Regions from separate parts of the Homo sapiens genome. Here region 2 is linked to region 1. The links are contacts of gene promoters, found by promoter capture Hi-C in human tissues and cell types (Jung and others, 2019). All regions are on one chromosome and are shown on one strand. The core of a region is centred on a gene start or on the middle of the fragment in contact, and the rest is flanking DNA. Distances in the headings are between cores, read along the strand shown. Region 1 holds the start of SAMD4A (sterile alpha motif domain containing 4A). Region 2 has its middle 77 kb from the start of MIR4308.

Region 1 (7,168 bases), core at 4,222-6,721:
CTTTTTTCTCTATTTCCATCCTTCCTTCTCCTGCATATGCCAATGCGGACAGCAACCAAGCTGCCCTTAGAAGATAATGCCACCATGTGGCCAAAATGGAAACTGTCTGAACTAAACTGGCTCTTCCACTCATGCCTCTCAGAGGATCATGCATGTAGGCCCATACATTAAAGGGGATAACACTATCTTCTGCATGGGAGATACCTTCTTGACCCCTCTTTACAATCTTTTTATATTAAAATATTGAACCAACTCCTATTCGCCCCTCAGGACTCAGCTCAAATGTATCTCCTCCTCAGGGAAGTCTTCCCTGATTCCCCAGGCAATAAGTGGCTAGGTTCACAATGCTCCCAGTAGGCCTCTCCTCATACTTTTTATCCCCATATCTATGCTTCAACACCTATGATATTATATTAGTCATTTACCCCACACTAAGAGTATCTATCTGTACTAGGCACTGGACTAGAGTTAAGTTACCTTTACATTTCCATTGCATAACACTGGGTCAGGAAAATAGCAGGCAGTCAGAAAATGTTTGTGGAATGAATAAATGAATGAAAAAACTACAAACAAGATCTTATCCATATCATCAGGAAAACCTCTTCTGCTGCTTTCTTTTTATGCCATTTGTAACCTTAAAAAGTAACGCAGGGTGGAGGATGGCATACTTGTACTACAGAAACCAAAACCATAAAAATCATGGAACCAACATACCCACCCTCTAATGACAGCAAGTTTACACAAATATGGGGTGAGGGTGACAGCCCCTCATCCCATTCTAAATATGTTACCTCCAATACACTATGGATTATCAATTTTTTTAAAAAAGTTAGAATTGTGTCTAGAATAAGAGTAATTACATTCTGAGAGAGAGTCTTCAAGCTCCACAATTATTTTTTTGTCTCAAACATCACCATTTTGGATACCCTTTTCTCTTGTATTTAACTATAAGTATAGGAATTTATTGTCATTTACTTACCACAAACATACACAAATAGTGTATATTTTGTGGGTTACGTTTTTGTGGATTAACTTATAAATCTCTATGAAAAATATATTTCAAGTCCAAGTGACAAAAGCCATAAATAAACAATGCCACAAAGTCTATTTTTCTTTTGGAAACTTCAGGTAAAGTCAGTGGGTTGCATTTTTGCTACTTGTAGGTATCAAATGACCTGCTAGTCCTGGAACTGAGACTGGCCAGAAGTCTCAATGTTCAACTGGAGCAGTAGCTGAAGAGACTTATCTAAGGTTATAAGGATCCTGGGAACAAGACTGTACTAGAGAACTGATCATGACCATATCTGTTAAAAGAAAAACACATACAAATAAATCCATAGGGACTGATTCAATCATTTCTTGGAATCTCCAATGACCATGAGCCTGAGGCAAAGGATGAACCAGTGAATCACTAGATTCTCAATAAATTTAAGAGAATGAAAGCACCAAATTACATCCCACAAATCTCAAATAAATCATGTTTAATGCGCAGGATATCTCACTATTTAAAATCAGTCCTGCATAAAACGAGAGATATATTCATACTATTACTAGTAATTTTTTTTTATTATACTGAGATCGAGTCCCATATATGAATTTGGTTCCCATTTACCAAGTTTTAAAATCTCTAAACACTAGACAAAATGTGAGGGTTTTTTAAATTGATGATTACAAAATAAAGTGATACAAGATGACTTCGGTACAGGAAATCTCAGCAATCCAATGAATGAGTCATTCTGCACAGCCTAGTTTTCTGAATTGGTAAGAGCCTTACACATCAAAACAGCTCAGAGGTTAATTATTCTGGGTGTAAACATTTCCAAAGTATATTGAACATTTCCTTCTCTTCTTAAAGAGTGTATCTAAAAATGTATTATTTCCATAGTTCACCGTTAACAACAGTAAATAGCAATTATTTGTTTATGTTATTATAGAGTGGTGCCTACAAGGTCAATTGAGGGTTCCCACCCTAATATTCCCAAGCCTTCAAAGTTTCTGCCCCAATTCTTGTCTAAAGTTACAGTTTTTCTGTCTCTTTCCAAGTTGTCAGGCTGTCAGGGGTCACTTTTTACTACTGATTACAGCAGTCCCTCACCCCATTCTAAATGTGTTACCCCCAATACACTACGGATTATTTGTCAAATTTTTTAAATGTTAGGATTGTGTCTAGAATAAGAGCAAGTACATTCTGAGAGAGGGCCTGAAATATTCTCTTGGACTTTCATGCTATCTACTCTGGTTGCGAAGTGGACTTTTTGCCCCCTTCCTGGTTCTTGGCTAGTTTCCGGATATGCAGAGAGCCACACTACAGACTCAGGTATGCTATGACAACTCCTGATGCTCTTTATGATCCCCACACTCCGAAAGTAAACCAAATCATCACATGACCTCCTAAGAAATTTCTGTCCTGGCCACACAACAAAACAACTGCAAAGATTTCCATGCAGGCAAAACGTCTAGGCGAAGGATTAATCCAGAAACTGGAGACCAGTTCCTATCTTACACAATGGTTCTATATTTTGTATATCTACATCATTTAGCAGCATGAACAGGTGGGTATCTTATACAAATAAGTATGGCCAAACATGTCTTAAGGGAAAAAAAATGCCAAGTGACTTCAAAAAATTCACAGTTCAATTTTTTAAATTATGAGATTTTTAAAATTAGGCCACCTTATTTTAACATTTAACTGTTTTACTTACTAACCTGGTGGCTGCTCTATTGGGAAAAGTCATCTCCATTACTCAAAGGGAAAAAGTGCTGCTCCAACATTTGAATAACCTAAAGATGAGTTTGAACAGTCCCTACCAGCACTGAAATCAAGCATTCAACCTAAATGACTCTGCGTAAATCCTCTGCAATCTATAAAATGCAAAAGTTTATATAACCTTGTTTGTCAAACCTGAGAAAGTAAAACCGAGCAGGTAAACCAGGCTTCCCGCTGAAATTAAGGAAGGAAGCAAAGAGGGTGGATCATCAGTTACCCAATTATGCTTCCACACCCCAGTGAAGGAGGCTGGCCCTCCAGCTATTTATAAACGTGGAGCTCAACCAAAGGGGGCCCTGTCATCGCCACCCCAGTGAGTCCTGGTGTGAGCTGGGAGGCTCGGGCTCAATGGAATCTCCCTCAATGTGGCCCTCCATACTTGGCCATGCAGGATCTTTCGGGTGCAGTCCTGTCTGGTCAGGAAAAGAACTGTGAAGATTTCCAGCGGTCACTTCCACCCTATGATTCTATATATGGAAGCATCCCATTCTAGTGTTTTCACCATCGTGCACACCATACTAGGGAGGAGGAATGAGTAGGCCGGCTCGCTTCTTGCTGCTCTGAAGGCACACTCACTTTAGTGTCTCCCAGGCCCCACTGCCCTGGACTGGACCTTGTCATCAAATGGCAGCCCAGACCTCTGCTGAGCTTTGCAGGCTCGCAGCTCCAACATGGAACAGCTGGAAGAGGACCCTGCATTCTTTTCTCTGCATAAACACTGGGGACTCTGTTCACCCTCCTGCAGCAGCATGAACTAAAGAATTTCCCCCTATCCAAAATCACAACCATCAGACTTTCCCCCCATCCCCCAGCCTCCTCCTACCCTCCAGGATATAATTTCAGTCTGTCACCACCCACGCTAGCAAATAGGAAACTGCTGGACCTTTCGACTATATTCACTTTCCATACTAGTTGAGGTGTCTGTAAATACTAGCAGGGTAATATGAAACGATTCTGTTCTATTCAGTAAAGTTTCCTAACGAAAAGCATTAAGTAACCCACTTCATGCCTGTCCTTTCTCCAAGACCCTTTTTTTCTACAAGATCCGTATCAATATGGATAATGTCACGAGCAGTAAGCTTAACCGCATTATATATATATATATATATATATATATATATATATATATATATATATATATGCTGCAAATGTCATTTTACTAGTCTCTAGCGTCACCTGCATATTATTCTGAAGACGAAGCTCTAAAACCAGAATATCTGTGGGGAAAAATGAATAATAAAATTGGATTTTCATGTACTCCTCACACAGCCTTATCCAAGCTTGGCTTCTGAAGGGCAGTCCCGGGCATCTATCATGTGTTGCTGAAATCCAGCGAGCCACGTTGCCCAAAAGAAGGAGGAGGAAGGAAAAAACACACACACCCAGAAAATCCAGACTCTACGTGACCTGACTTACTTATTTCCCAGGAAACTGCATGAGAGAAAAATCAATCATTCATGCTACCGTAGCTACCACACGGAAAGGGCTGACGGAGTTCACAGTGGGCAAAATCCCAAAGCGGCCGGCGGAGGTAAGTAGGTGGGGGGCGGTAGTGGGGGGACACCCGGAGGGGGTGGATTCCGAGGGCCTCGGGGCCACGCCGTCCAGGTCCCGGCGCGGCTGGCAGGGACTGGCCTCGGCCTGGCCCGAGGCAGAGAAGCGGAGGGAGGAGCGGGGGTTGGGCAGGCGGGACGGCGGCGGCGGCCGCCGCACACTTACCGGGGCTGTTGGCCTCGCGTTCGAGGACGTGCAGCTCGGCGCAGTCGGCCAGCGAGTGCTCCAGGCAGAGCTGGAGGAAGCGGGCCTGGGTCTGGCTCACGCGCTTGAGCAGCGACAGCAGCGCAACAGTCTGCTCGCACTCGTTCCAGCCCTTAAACCAGCCCGCCAGCACCCCGACCTGGTCGCGAAACATCATGGTTAGGGGGCCGCCCTCGGTCTACAGAGCCCCCTGGGCGCCCCAGCCCGCCCCGCCCGCCCCAAAGTTTGGCGGAGCCGCAGCCCCGCGGCCGGAGACGCGTTCCTGTTCCAAGGTGGCTCTGGTGCCCGGACGCTGCAGGTACTGCCTGGGCTCCTGCCTCTCTTGTCTGGTTTCAGTTACGTTCCGGTGGTTCTGGCTGATTTCCCCAGAGACGATGACAGACAGTAGCACGGAAATGTTTCTTTAAAAAAAAAAACGACTTTTTAAAAATCCCCCACAAGGCACACAACTGAATGAAGAATGCTTTCTCCCCCCTTCTTGCAGCTTTGGGATGGTGATTTCCGGCGTCCTGGGGTCTCCTCCCCGCTGGGCGGCAACTCGGACCCTTCACGCCCGCATTCCCGAGCGGCGATCACCACTGGAAGGAGAGAAAGAGCTGCAGTGAGACCTCGGCTAGCGGAGGAGCGCGCCCTGGGGGGACGAGGGCATCAGAGGGTGCTGGGGCCAGGGGAGGGGGCGTCCCGCGGAAGGTTGGGTTCGCCGAAATCCAGCCGCCCCCTCCGCCCCCTCCGCACCCGATGTGGGAGATGGGCTATTCCCCACCGGGTAACAGCGAGAAGCCTGCTTCCCAGGTGCGGGAGGAGACCCCGCGGCTTCCTGTTGCTGCCGCTGCCAACGGCTGGTGCTCCCCTCACGGCCCGCCTGGGGTGGCCTCGGGCGCCGTGCTTAAGAACGCCAGCACCAGCAACAGATCTTCCCCGCGCAGAAAACTTGCAATGCGGCTGCGAAGGGGCGCGGGGGTGGGGGTGGGAGCTAATGCAAAGCAGAGGCGGAGGCAGCGGCAGCCCGAGTTCCTTCCTCCTCCTCTTACTCCTCCTCCTCCTCCCAGAGAAGCAGCCGAGCGGCTGCAGCTCCATCTACAGCAACAGCCAGCATCTCCACCGCCAGGCGCCCCTCTGGATTTAGGCCGTGAGCAGCCGCGGCAGCAGCTCGAGACAAAAATAAACTCTCTCCACCCAAAGCTCCGCGCCCAGCGGGCGGCGGCGCAACCCAGAGCCCCGGCTCCCCCGCGCCGCGCCGCACCAGCCCACCCGGGAGGTCTCCCTGGGCCTGCTCCGGCCGGAGCGGTCACTGTGCGCGCGCGTGTGCGTGTGTGTGTGCGCGCGTGTGTGGCAGGCATCCTGCCGCCGCCGCCTACGGGCTGGTCTGTCCGGCCCGGAGCCTCGCCCGCGCGTCGCAGGCCGAGGGCGGCACAGCGCTGGGCACACGCCCCGCGAGGGGACGGCCGGGGTCCGCAGCGCTGCTCCCTTCGGCCAGCGGGGCGGCCCCGCGGGGAATGCGGATCGGCGCCGCAGGCACACGCCCCCCAACGACAGCAAAGAAAGTTCGGCTGCGGGGGTTCCCCCAGTCCCATCCCGGTTCTCGTGGCCGCCGCCGGCGGGGAGGAGAACCCAGCGACTCAGCCTTCAAGGAGCCGCTAGCTTCCAACAACACGCTGCTTCCGGCTCCCAGAACTTCTCGGGCGGAGGGGGAAGCCCCCGGGGAGGGGACCCCCAGTGACCCGCGGGTCCCCCGCCGAGGGCCGTAGGGAGGGAGCGCTCACCTCGGCGCGGCTCATCCCGGCGGCTCGGGGGCCCTTGCGCGGGTCCGGGGCCGCGGCGGCTCTCAGCGGGGTTGGGGGCGCCCGGAGCGCCGGCCGCGGGCCATGCCGTCGGGGCGGGCGGCGCGGGGAGAGTGCGGTGCTTCGAGTCGGGGCCGCTGCAGCCGCCGCTGCTGCTGCCTCCAGTGTCGGCTCGCGGAGGACTGAGCCGCCCGAGCCGGAGCTCCCCACATGCTACTGATTAACATACACCATTACATCATGGGCTTGGCAGGGAGCGCCCGAGCGGGGGGAGAGGAACCCGGGCGGCGGCGACGGCACGCGGGGGGAGCCGGGGGGAGGAACCCCGGACCCGGCGCAGGGCGGGGGGACGGATTCCTAAGTGGGGACCAGAAAAAGGGGAGGGGAGCGGAGTGGGAGGAGCTGGTGGCGCAGAGGGGTCGGGTAGAAGGAACCTCCGAGAGGAACGAAGAAGTTCGGGGAAGAGGACGGGTCCGGGTGAATTTCTTCCTGCGGCCGCCTGCGTGTTCTGGAGGGGTCGGGACACTCAAGCCACTGGAGCCCCGGCAGAAAGGGACCCGAGGGCGCTCGGGCGGGGGCGGTGCTGCCACCCGCTGCTTGTCCTTGGGAATGTGGTTCGTCCGCTCGGCTGACCCTCGGCCCTTCTGGGGCCCCGGGGTGGCCGAGGTGTTTGGCCCCCGGGCGGTGAGACCCGAGGTCACTGCCGCACTTGCTGGGATGGGTTCCGGGGGTCGTGGAGGCGAAGGGTTCACGAGGCTGAGGGGCAGTGCGCAGGGTTGGACCTGCCCAGGCGCTAGGTTCCGTGCCGCCCTAGTCCAAGGGCCTGGCCCGGGTCGGGTGCCGGATGCCCTTTGCTCTGGCG
Region 2 (6,655 bases), core at 519-3,018, 240 kb before region 1:
ATGAATGCGCGGCTGGGCCTGGCCCTGGGACCCTAGTGATCCTGCAGCACACTGGGAGCGTAACAGGAGGTCACCCAGCCACCCAGGACATGACCTCGTCTGATGACGCCACTTTAAGCTCCTCCAGACTTTGAGGTCCTGAAGAGAAGCAGCAAACCCAGGTAAAGTGACCAGGGTTTGTCTTTGTAACAGGCTCACATTCCTCAAAAGTGGGGAGGGACATTGGCCGGATGGGGACCCCAAGACCTTAGCCGTCTTGAACATTCGTTTGTGCTCTGCTGGGAGGCAGCATGCGGTGACCGGGTGGGAGATATTAGTGCTGTGGTCCAGCCCTGTCTGTGAGTCCTTCATGGCAGGGTAGGATTGTGCTTCCCAGCTCCACTGAAGTTAGATGTGGCCATGTGACTGGCTTCGGCTGACGAAGTGTGAGCGGAAGTGACACATTTCACTTCTAGTGGAAGGCATGTCCTTTTTTTCCCTCTGCTGTGGCAAATATCAGTACTCCAGTAGGTGGCAACTGTGCCAGAAGCTGGATTCCAGAGGAAGCCATATAGAGCAGATGTCCCTGATGACCTGTGATGGACATGCAGGCCAGTCTTTGTGGTTTTAAGGCATTGAGGTTTTGGGGAGTATCTGTTAATGGAGTGTAACCTAATCTGCATTAACAGACAACCCGAAACTATACTGGCAGATACCTGGATAATCAGGCTGATGAATTCTGGTTAATAGATCACTCAGCTGTTAATGCTATGCAACTGTATGGTAGATGCACCTGTGCACGGCAGACACACCTGACAGCGATAACTTAAGCATTTTCTGAGAATCACCCTGTATGGCAGACGCACCTGAATGTGTGTTTAGAGTTCCAGCGTGGCCAACCTGGGGACTCATTCCTTATCTGTGAGGCATATCTGAGCCCCCATCCTGCCCTGTCCCATAAAATGTGGGTCATACAGAGTATTGAGGCCCTTTGTTTTGGGTTAAACGAAGGTTGCCAGGTGATGGTTGCTAGGGGGAGGGTGTTAAGTGAGAACGCTGTATAAACTGCATGCTCTTATAAGTGGTGGTTCTCCTGTCCAGTCCCCACCACTGGGCTGCTCCGTAAGTTCCCCTCAATAAGCCCCGTGTCTCGTTTGCTGGCTCTGGGTCTCTTCTTTAGCCTCTCGAGCCTGGTGCCATCCCGATTGGAGGTGATAGGTGTCTGGCATGACAGTATCCCAGGGAACAATTCATCAACCTAATTAAAGTACACATAGCTTACAAAATTGAGTCTTTGCGGTAGGCATTGCAAGCACCATTGAAGCCAATGGGGAAGAAATTTGAGAAGTGACTGGGAGTGTGCTGAAACCCCACTGCTAATGCTGCCTGGCTTAGATGATTCCCATAGGTAGGGCACCCAAGGAACAGGGTGGATCAGGTGCTTGCTCTTAGTTCTGTAATGAGTCCGTGGAAGCAGCTGCCTTTTACCCTCATCTACCAAGGCTGCAGATGCACTTAACCTCATAGACCAGTAAGCTAGGAGAAGCAGTTTCATTTGATGTGCAGTTTTCCCATTTGGCTGCCCATTAGAATCACCTGGGAGCTTAATAACCTCACGCCCAGGCCATGCCCTAGAACAACTAAGTCAGAGTCTCTCAGGATGGACTCCAGGCATCAGTAGTTGGTAAAGCTCCCCAGGTGACTCCCATATGGAGTCAGATTGAGAACCACAGCCATGTCGGCTCTTCTCTTTCAATTAGGGGCTATATTTAAACAAATAGGATGGTCATTTTGCAGAATTCTGCTGCCTACCAGTAACCTCGTGTCTCAGGCTGCAACAGATGTTGGAAAGGGAAGGCCTGGAGGTTCATCACAGTCTCCTTACTGTGTGTGCTCATATGGGGTCTCCAGAGCCTAAGACAACCAGCCATTGCCATCTCCTAGCAATATTTAGGGTAGACAGACCTGGATTTGAGTCTTATCGTGGAGCCTCATTCCATAACAATTCTGTGATGTTGGACAAGTTGCTTAACATCTCTGAGTCTCAGTTTTTCCATCTGCAAAGTGGGGGATAATCTAACAACAAATGTATCAGCTTAGCAAAACAGTATTTTGTCTGGATGAGGAGGTGGGTTATGTAACATAACAAATTTCATGTCCCTACCCCTAGCCCAATTCTTCCCCAGCACCTCAGCTGGCCAAGCAAGACGCTTTGGGAGGCATCCTGGACTCATTAGTTTCTCCTCTACAGCCCATGTCTGATCCATCATCAAGCACAATGAGGCTACGTCTTTTTTTTCTCTCGTTGATATCTGGCTTTCTTATTTTTAAAATGTTTTATTTCCTGGGTTTTTGGGGAACAGATGGTGTTTGGTTACATGAGTAAGTTCTTTAGTGGTGATTTGTGAGATTTTGGTGCACCCATCATCCGAGCAGTGCACACTGAATTTAACTTGCAGTCTTTTATCCCTCACCTCCCTCCCACCCTTTCCCCTGAGTCCCCAAAGTCCGTTGTATTTTTTAACTTTTAAGTTTAGGGGTACATGGTGCAGGTTTGTTACATAGGTAAATGTGTGTCATGGGGGTTTGTTGAACAGATTATTTCATTATCAAGTTATTAAGCCAAGTACCCATTAGTTATTTTTCCCGATCCTCTCCCTCCTCCTACCCTCCACCCTCCGATAGGCCCCAGTGTGTGTTGTTCCCTTCTATGTGTCCATGTGTTCTCATGATTTAGCTTCCACTTATAAGTGAGAACATGTGGTATTTGGTTTTCTGTTCCTGTGTTAGTTTGCTAAGGTTAATATCCTCCAGCTCCATGTTCCTGCAAAAGACATGATCTTGTTCTTTTTTATGGCTGCATAGTATTCCATGGTGTATATGTACTATTTTTTCTTTTTCCAGTCTATCATTAATGGGCATTTAGGTTGATTCCATGTCTTTACTATTGTGAATAGTGTTGCAATGAACTTTCACGTGAATGTGTCTTTATGATAGAACAATTTATATTTCTTTGAGGATATACCCAGTAATGGGATTGCTGGGTTGAATGGTATTTCTTCTTTAGGTCTTTGAGGAATTGCCACACTGTGTTCCACAATGGTTGAACTAATTTACACTCCATTAACAGTGTATAAGCACTCCTTTTTCTCCACAACCTCACCAGCATTTGTTTTTTTTTGACTTTTTGATAATAACCATTCTGACTGGTGTGAGACGGTATCTCATTGTGGTTTTGATTGGCATTTCTGTAATGATCCGTGATGTTGAGCTTTTTTTCATATGTTTGTTGGTCACATAGTATGTCTGCTTTTGAGAAGTGTCTGTTCATGTCCTTTGCCCACTTTTTAATGTTTTTTTTTTCTTGTAAATTTGTTTAAGTTCCTTACAGATGCTGGATGTTAGACCTTTGTCAGATGCAGAATTTGCAGAAATTTTCTCCCATTCTGTAGGTTGTCTGTTTACTCTGATAGTTTCTTTTGCTGTGCAGAAGTTCTTTAATTAGATCCCATTTGGCAATTTTTGCTTTTGTTGCAGTTGCTTTTGGCATCTTCACCATGAAATCTTTGCCTGTGCCTATGTCCTGAATGGCATTGCCTATGTTGTCTTCCAGGGTTTTTATAGTTTTGGGTTTTATATTTAAGTCTTTTATCCATCCAGAGTTAATTTTATATGTGGTATAAGGAAAGCGTCCAGTTTCAATCTGCATATGGCTAGCCAGTTATCCTAGCACCATTTATTGAATAGGGAATCCTTTCTCCATTGCTTGTTGTAGGTGTGTGGTCTTATTTCTGGGTTCTCTGTTCTGTTCCATTGGTCTATGTGTCAGTTCTTGTACCAGTACCATGCTGTTTTGGTTACTGTATCCCTGTAGTATAGTTTGAAGTTGGGTAATGTGATGTCTTCAGCTTTGTTCTTTTGCTTAGGATTGTCTTGGCTATTTTGGTTCCATATGTTTTAAAATAGTTTTCTATAGTTCTGTGAAGAACGTCAATGGTAGTTTAATGGGAATAACATTGAATCTATAAATTGCTTTGGGCAGTATGGCCATTTTACCAGTATTGATTCTTCCTATCTATGAGTATGGAATGCTTTTGTTTGTGTCATCTCTGATTTCTTTGAGCAGTGGTTTATAGTTCTCCTTGTAGAGATCTTTCACCGCCCTAGTTATCTGTATTCCTAGGTGTTCTTTTTCTGGCAGTTGTGAATGGGAGTTCATCTGTGATTTGGCTCTCATCTTGACTGTTGTTGGTACATAGGAATGCTAGTGGTTTTTGCACATTGACTTTTATATCCCAAGACTTTGCTAAAGTTGCTTATCAGCTTAAGAAGCTTTTGGGCTGAGACAATGAGGTTTTGTAGATACAGGATCATATCATCTACAAACAGGGATAGTTTGATTTCCTCTCTTCCTATTTAAATGCCCTTTATTTGTTTCTCTTTCCTGATTGTCCTGGCCAGAACCTCCAATACTATGTTGAATAGGAGAGGCTACATCTTATGAATCTCACAGATCTGTCCAGTTCTCTCTGTCCCTGCTGCCATACCCTTGAGCTTGTGAACTGTCTGGATCATCTGTCCCCTGGGGCATCCTCACTCCTGCACTTGCGCTCTCCTCTAATCCATTTCCCAAAATGCAGTCGGAGTGACTTTTCCAAAATATAAATTTCCCTGTTAGACATTATCCCAAAATTTAAAATTAATAATTAAAATAGTGGGAGTGCTAGTACATGAATAGACAAATGTATTGATGAAAAGAAAAATAGGAAGTGCAGAGAGAGATCTAAATACATAGAGGAAGTTGCTTTGTTAAAGGGGTGGCATATCAGATCAGTGGAGGAAAAATATATTAATAGTGTAGACACAACTGGGTACCCACCTTTGCATAGAAATACAATTGGTTCCAAACCTCGTATTTTATACTAAAAATGGTTCAAATATATATAAATATAAAATGAATCCATGAAAGTACTAGTGGAAAATATAGCTATCTCAAAGTGGAAAAGGCCTTTTAAAATATGATTTGAAATCCAGAAGCCATAAAAGATGAAGAAATTCAACCACATAAAAATAAAAATAAGTTCTTTATGACAAAAGACCAACTGGGAAAAATATTTGTAACTTATATCACAGACCAAAGGCCAATTTCTACAATATACAAAGAGCGGCTACAAAAATAAGAAAAGGACCCACAACTCAATGATAAAATGGGCAAATATATGAACACCCAGTTCAAAGGAAAATATAAAAGACTATTAAGCATATAAAAATGCTCAAACTCAGTCTCACTCGAGAAATAAATAAAAAGGGTGCTGATAGCATTTTTTTCACATATTAGATAGGAGAATATACAAAAGTTTGGTTTATGAATTGCTGAGAGTATAGGAAATAAAGCACTCTCATCCATTGCTGCTGGAAGTATAAATCTATAGAAGATGACTTGGCAATAACTAGCAGGATGAGCAATGATACTTGTGATGGTTAGTTACATGCGTCAACTTGGCTAGGCTATAATACCGTTATTTAATCACACACTAATTGGTGTTGCTGTAAAGGTATTTTGTAGATCTGATTAACATCCACAACCATTTGGCATTAAGGAGATTACCCTTGATAACCTAGGTGGGCCTCATCCAATCAGTTAAAGGCCTTAAGACCAAGAACTGACGTTTCTGAAAGAAGTTCTACCTCAAGGCTGAAACATCAAATCCTGGCTGAGTTTCCAGCCTATTGCACAAATTTCAAACTCGCCAGCCCTCACGATTGAGTCTTTCCTTAAAATGAGTATCTCTCCCCCTCCCTCCTCCCTCTCCCTTCCACACCTCCCTGAGACTGGTTCTGTTCCTGCAGAGAATCCTGGCTGATACAATCTCCTTTAATCCAGCAATCCCGCCTTCTCACAGTGGGAACCCTTGCATGACACACACGTAATTTATTCATCAGAGCCTTGTCTGTAATAGGGTAAAGGAAACCTGAGTGTCCATCAGTAAAGAGCTGGTTAAAGGAGTTCTGTTCATCCACAGCGTGGAACACTGTGTCGCTGTCAATATAGAATGGTCTCCAAAACTGATTTAGTGAGAAAAGAAAAATGCCACACCATGATGAACAGCGTGCATGGTATGCTTTTGTGTGTGTACAAAGGGGGAACAAAATATAGATCCATGTTTGCACATGGAGAGAATATCTCTTGGCAGGTACACAGGAAGCCTACACTGGGGGCCTGCAGTGAGGGGAACTGAGTGACTGGGACATGGGACAGAAGGGAGACTGTTCACTTATGCCCCTCTCTTCCACAAGACCACAAAAACCCTTCCAGCTGATGATGCCACTTGCCGGCAGCACAGCTACTGCCCTTCAGGGAGAGCCTACGCTTTTTGCCATGGCCCTTTAGGACCGGCCCTGCCTCCATCCCCAGTCCCCACTCCTACCCACCCCACACCTCCAACTCTACATTCCCTGCATTCAGAATTCCGGCTGGGTATTTACTTATTTCAGTTCTTCAAATTCACATGTTCTCTCTTGCCCCTAAATCTGGACTGTCCCTGAGGCCCTCTCCAGGAATTCCTGCTTTTAGTCCTTCTGGTGTTGCTTCCTTTCTTCCGAAGGACCTGGGTGGCTTGGGTGGTGTCTACCTTCCGGGCAGTGGGCCATGGGTGAGGAGGCTTCCCCAGGGAAC

The links. The method cuts DNA at HindIII sites, captures the fragments that hold promoters and counts their contacts. A contact is called where the count stands out against the background at its distance.
Region 2: a fragment that was not itself captured here is called in contact with the fragment with the promoter of SAMD4A in region 1 in 8 of the 25 tissues and cell types used here (adrenal gland, liver, lymphoblastoid cells and 5 more).

What each region holds. Positions count from the first base shown.
Region 1 is chr14:54,565,431-54,572,598 of GRCh38, reverse strand. SAMD4A (sterile alpha motif domain containing 4A) reads right to left here and starts at 5,471. Exons shown (of 13, transcript NM_015589.6): 1 at 5,261-5,471; 2 at 4,487-5,103. The coding sequence starts at 4,682. RefSeq lists silencers at 4,440-4,499, 4,740-4,799, 5,640-5,829, 5,950-5,999, 6,560-6,689. The HindIII fragment of the contact is 16,931 bases long and covers 1-7,168 here.
Region 2 is chr14:54,797,865-54,804,519 of GRCh38, reverse strand. No RefSeq gene overlaps it. Among named protein-coding and RNA genes, the nearest start is that of MIR4308, 77 kb to the left of the region's middle. The HindIII fragment of the contact is 8,937 bases long and covers 1-6,236 here.